2 separate regions of the Homo sapiens genome follow, and region 2 is linked to region 1. Evidence: promoter capture Hi-C in 16 types of primary human blood cells and fetal thymus (Javierre and others, 2016). All regions are on one chromosome and are shown on one strand. Each heading gives the region's core, a stretch centred on a gene start or on the middle of the fragment in contact. The rest is flanking DNA. Distances are from core to core; before and after follow the strand shown.

What was found. The method cuts DNA at HindIII sites, captures the fragments that hold promoters and counts their contacts. A CHiCAGO score of 5 or more calls a contact.
Region 2: a contact is called between a fragment that was not itself captured here and the fragment with the promoter of IL13RA1 in region 1, in 1 of 17 cell types (total B cells). The highest score is 5.5, in total B cells.

The regions. Positions count from the first base shown.
Region 1 is chrX:118,726,249-118,728,948 of GRCh38, reverse strand. IL13RA1 (interleukin 13 receptor subunit alpha 1) reads right to left here and starts at 1,343. Exons shown (of 11, transcript NM_001560.3): 1 at 1,223-1,343. The coding sequence starts at 1,310. RefSeq lists a silencer at 1,305-1,734. The HindIII fragment of the contact is 2,975 bases long and covers 1-2,700 here.
Region 2 is chrX:119,820,817-119,823,516 of GRCh38, reverse strand. It overlaps a transcript of UPF3B not described here and the pseudogene LOC100422368. Among named protein-coding and RNA genes, the nearest start is that of RPL39, 31 kb to the right of the region's middle. The HindIII fragment of the contact is 207 bases long and covers 1,204-1,410 here.

The DNA.
Region 1 (2,700 bases), core at 94-2,593:
ACTCAAATGCCACCTTTCAGCAACATTTGTTTTCTTCTCGATCCACCCTTTTTACAATGGCAAACCCCTTCCCACCTGCTCTGTTTTTCTCTACTTAACACCCTCAGACATATCATATATTTTACCCCCACCCCCCGATATGTCTGAGGGCAGGCACCTCATCTGTTTTGCTCACTGCTGCATCCTCAGCCCCTAAACACTGCCTGGCAGCATGTATTTTATTGACTGAATCCATAGAGGGCATTAAGGTTTCCTAATCAACATTTCAACTTGGATTTCAAAGCACATTGGTAAAAATGCAATAAGCATATATAAGTGTTTGTGTCAATGTGATAATAAAACCTATACAGTTTGGGGCTTTCATTGTCACCAAAAACGTCCAGAAGGCCATTCCTTCCAGGAGCTGCTCCTAAGGAAGTCATTAACTCCCAATTTTTCACAACTGCCAGGTTGATTAACTAGAAGTTACCAAACAGGGTGAGGGATATACACAACTCTCTGAAGTATCTTTGCAACTTTTCCATAAATCTACAATTACCCTAAAATATAAGGTTTATTAAAGAGAGTGGGGTGGGGGGAGCATCTGCCGGGATGCTATTCTGGATTTCCCAAAGGATTTCTTCGACGCCAGAGGAGGTCATGAGCGTCACGTCCTTTTTCAACAAGGACTGAGATGTTTAGAGGTTCCCTTCAACTTCCACTCGCAAGAGCCACCCTTAGACAGTGAGGATTGGCGCGGCCTCGGGCAAAGAGCCCCGGCGCGTTCTCAGCTCGCCTGGACTTCGGTCGTGGTCCCCGCCGGCTCTGGCGCCTCATTTCCTCCCGGGCTCACAGGCGACATTCCGGGCGCTGACCCACGGCCCTCTGACGCCGTGGGCATGTTTCGGGCCCCCCGCCCCCGCACGCCTGGACGCCAGCCTCCTGGGCTCTTCCCACTACAAGTCGCAGCCCTCTTACTTCGCTGCCGCCACCTCCGCCGCACCCGGAGTTCGGGAAAACCCCGCAGCTCCCGGGTCCCACCTCGAACCGGCCCCAGTACCGGGCCCCAGAGATCCCGCGCGGGAAGCCGCAGCCGCCGAGCGCGGGGCCTCGCGAGGGCAGCCCCCAGCACCCACCCCAGCTTCGGCCCTCCGCCCGGCGTTGACCTCCGGGGCCTTTCAGCCGTGACCCTCACCGCCCTCAGCCCTCCGGCCGCCCCTCGGGCCCCGAGGGTCGCACTCACCCGTAGGCGCGGCGCCCCCGCCCCCGCCCCCGCCGCCGGCGCAGAGCAGCAGCGCCCACAGCCCGCAGAGCCGCGCCGGCCACTCCATGCAGCCTCTCGCCTCGGAGCCCGGCCGGGCTGGAGCCTTGGCAGTCCCCGCCTCCTTCGCTCCCTCTTCCACTTCCCGGCTCCGCCGCCCTGGAGGCTGGGGGCCGGCGCAGACGGGAAGGGCCGCCCCGCCCACCGGCCTCAGGTAACCTGAGCCGGCGAGAGCGGCCGGAGGAGGCGGGGCGGGGCGCCGGCGGCTCTGGCGGCTCTGGCGGCTCCTACGGCTCCCAAGGCTGGACACCTGGCCCACCCGCAGCTCCCGCGTCCGGTCTCTGACCGAACAAAACTTCTTCCACCACGTCGCCGCCCACTCCGGGCGCTGCCTGGGCCTCCTCCCTCCGCGTGGCGGAGCCGGCGTCGCCGCTGCCAGCACACTTGCGGGGCCTCGGAGGTGCTAGGGGCTGTGCCCTGCTGGACACCAGGACAGAGTCATCTGCGGAAAAGAGCCTTGGCCTGGGAGTCTGGAGACCTGGCTTCCAGCCCTTGACCTCTGAGCCCTTGTTTGCTAGCGCTGACTCCAGGGTTAGTAATACCAGCCCTACTTCACTGGGTGGAGTTGGGGACACTGGCAGTACTGTGCTTTGTGAAAAGGACAAAGGGCATATTTGAAAGCTGGCAATACATAATGTTGATTTTAAAAGGAACATTCCAAACATGAGGGAGGATACCATACGTGCATTTTTTAAAGCACACGACAAACTTTCTACATATTTTTCAAAGGGATGGGAGGTGAATCGGAAGAATACACATTGATACTTGGGCGCCTATGAGGGTCAGTGAGGCTGGGAGGAAGGAAAACAAGAGTCCTTAGGCGTTTCCTGTTGCTGCTGTCAAAAATGACCACAAATTTAGTGATTTAACAGTTTTATTTTATTACAGTTCTGGAGGTCAGAAGTGACACTGAGCTTAAATCAAGGTGTGGGCAGAGATGTATTCCTTCTGGATATTCTAGGGGAGAATCTGTGTCTTTGACTTTTCCAGCTTCTAGAGGCTACCCACATTCCTTGGCTTGTTGCGGAACTACTCAGACCTCTGCTTCCCTTGTCGTATCTGACTCTGACCCTCTTACTTCCCCTTTTCCCTTATAAATACCCTTGTGATTAGATTAGGTCCACCAGATAATTCATAATAATCTCCCCATCTCAAAATCCTTGATTTAATCATAACTGAAAAGTCATTTTTGCTATGTAAGTTAACATATTCACAGGTGTTGGGGATCACGATATGGAATCATGGGAGGGGGACATTATTCTATCACCTTCTCCCAAAAAAGAATCATGTCTAGGTGGATGATGAGACCCATAATGAGGTGTATTTTGGCCGAATTAAGCCAATGCATATACCTGAAAACAGTTACAAAAAGTATAGCAATAAAAATGCTGATAATATAC
Region 2 (2,700 bases), core at 58-2,557, 1.1 Mb before region 1:
GCAGGTAACCCTAGCATTTGGGAGGCCAAGGTAGGAGGATCATTTAACTTCAGGAGTTCTAGAACAGCCTGGGCAACATAGGGCAACCCCGTCTCTGCTAAAATTTAAAAACCCAATGTGGTAGCACGGGCCTGCGATCCCAGCTACTAGGGAGCTGAGGTGGTAGGATTCCTTCAGTCTGGAATGTCGAAGCTGGATCATGCCACTTGCACTGCAGCCTGGCTGACACAGTGAGACCCTGTCTCCAAAGAAAATAAATTTAACCAGACATAAAAAATAATAATTAGGAAATGGTTGCTTTTCTTTGGAGATGGAGAGAGGAAGTGGGCAAGTTGTCATTTACCATGCCCTCATATATTTGGTCTTAAATGACTGGGCTTTAGTATATATTAATATATAAGGTATAACCTAAAAATCTCATGTAAAAGCTTAGTAGCATTGTTGTAACAGTAACATATTTCATTGTACTTCAGGACTGTCCATGGATGCAGTGTTACCATCGAGGAGCTCGAGGCCGAGGTCGACTCTGGCACCCTGATGACAAGTCTGGAGATTCAGCAGTAGAAAGAAAGCAGGAAAGTGGTATTAGCCATAGAAAAGAAGAGGAGAGGCCGGGCGTGGTGGCTCATGCCTGTAATCCCAGCATTTTGGGAGGCCGATATGGGTGGATCACCTGAGGTCAGGACTTTGAGACCAGCCTGGCCAACATGGTGAAACCCAGTCTCTACTAAAACTACAAAAATTAGCCGGGCTTGGTGGCAGGCGCCTGTAGTCCCAGGTACTCGAGAGGCTGAGGCAGGAGAATTGATTAAACTCAGGAGGTGGAGGTTGCAGTAAGCCATGATCGTGCCACTGCACTCTAGCCTGGGTGACACTAGGGAGGCTCTATCTCCAAAAAAATTAAAAAAAAATAAAGAGGAGAGGAGTACGCAGCAGAAGAGTAAGTTTTGTCTCAAAGAAGGAATCTGGTCGGAGGTTCAGAATTGGAAGTACAATTTTATTGTTTTTGCAATTTCTATAAATTAAAGTGTCAGAAAATGCTGATGGCGAGGACATGCATTGCAATTTGCAGGGGAAATGTCAAGTGAGGACTTCATCACGTGTGACACGAGAGAAAAGTAAGAGCTGGTTTTAAAATCAAAAGCTGTTGTTCATCCTGAATTGAATTTCTAAATTTTGGTGGAGCAGAGTCGCTTTGAAGCTTTATTCCCATCTATTTCTATTGCATTGCTAATGATAACTGTTGACTTTGGGTAGTGTAGAAGCAACAAGCATGTCCTTGTCTATAAGTACAGGGAAGGATAGAACAAACTTTCATTGATGCAAACATTTAAATAGTCATGTTACTTCTGTATCCAATGTCCTAACATTTTAGGGTTACTTTTGTTTTTTTATTTGCTTACATAAGCTTAGCATGAAGAATATTTTTAAACATCTCGTTTTGTCTCCAGCATTTTTTCTATTAAGAGGTAAAATGTAGTCCTTGTTGGATTCTTGACAATCTAGTTTGTTTTATCTCAGGTCTCATGATCTGGTGCCTACCCTCTCCAGGAAGGAAACTGCACCAATGTCTGTTGTTGTTACATATCAACTTTTAGTTTCAGTTTGTTTTGTTCTGATGTCAATACATAGTAACAGCAGTCAAGTATGAAGCTAAGTGTGGTGAGTAACTTTAGTAAACAGCTGTGAGGTTTTTTTTGTTTTTTTTGTTTTTTTTTTGAGACAGAGTTTCACTCTGTCACCCAGGCTGGAGTGCAGTGGCACAATCTCGGCTCACTGCAACCTCCACCCTCCGGGTTCAAATTATTCTCCTTCCTCAGCCTCCTGAGTAGCTGGGACTACAGGCACCTGCCACCGCGCCTGGTTAATTTTTTGTATTTTTAGTAGAGATGGGGGTCTCACCATCTTGGCCAGGCTGGTCTTGAACTCCTGACCTCGTGATCCACCGGCCTCAGCCTCCCAAAGTGCTGGGATTACAGGCGTGAGCCACCACGCCCAGCCAGCTGTGAGTTTTGAGAAATTAAATTTTTTATACTGTATTAGCCTCTTGGAAGTATCAAAAGCAGATGAATAATGTTAGTTTCTGCCTTCACAGGCATTGCCTTTGTTTTGTCCACCAGAGAAAGATCAGTTCATGGTTCACTCCTGTATTAGGCCGTTCTTGCATTGCTATAAATAAATGCCTGAGACTGGGTAGTTTATAAGAAAAGAGGTTTAACTGGTTCACAGTTCTGCAGGCTGTACAAGCATGGCATCTGACATTGCTCAGCTTCTGGGAGGCCTCAGGGACCTTTTACTCATGGCGGAAAGTGAAGCAGGAGCAGGCATGTCACATCACAGAGTGAGCAAGAGAGTGAGTGTGGGAAGGAGGTGCCACACTTTACAACAACCTGATCTGTAAGAACTCACTATGGAGAGGACAGCACCAAGCCATGAGGGATCCGCCCCATAACCCCAATACCCCACCAGGCCCCACCTACAACACTGGGGATTATATTTCCATGAGATTTGGGTGGGGACAAATTTCAAAACTACATCAACTGTTCTGGTCCCATAAGAACAAAATGTTTAGACAACATCCTTGAGCTTTTGCCTGATTTTCATTCATCCTGCCAGCCCTTCCTAACATGGCATCTGTTTGCCAGATGCCTGGGCTCAAACAATCTGTCCACTGTAGCCTCGAAAAGTGCTGGGATTATA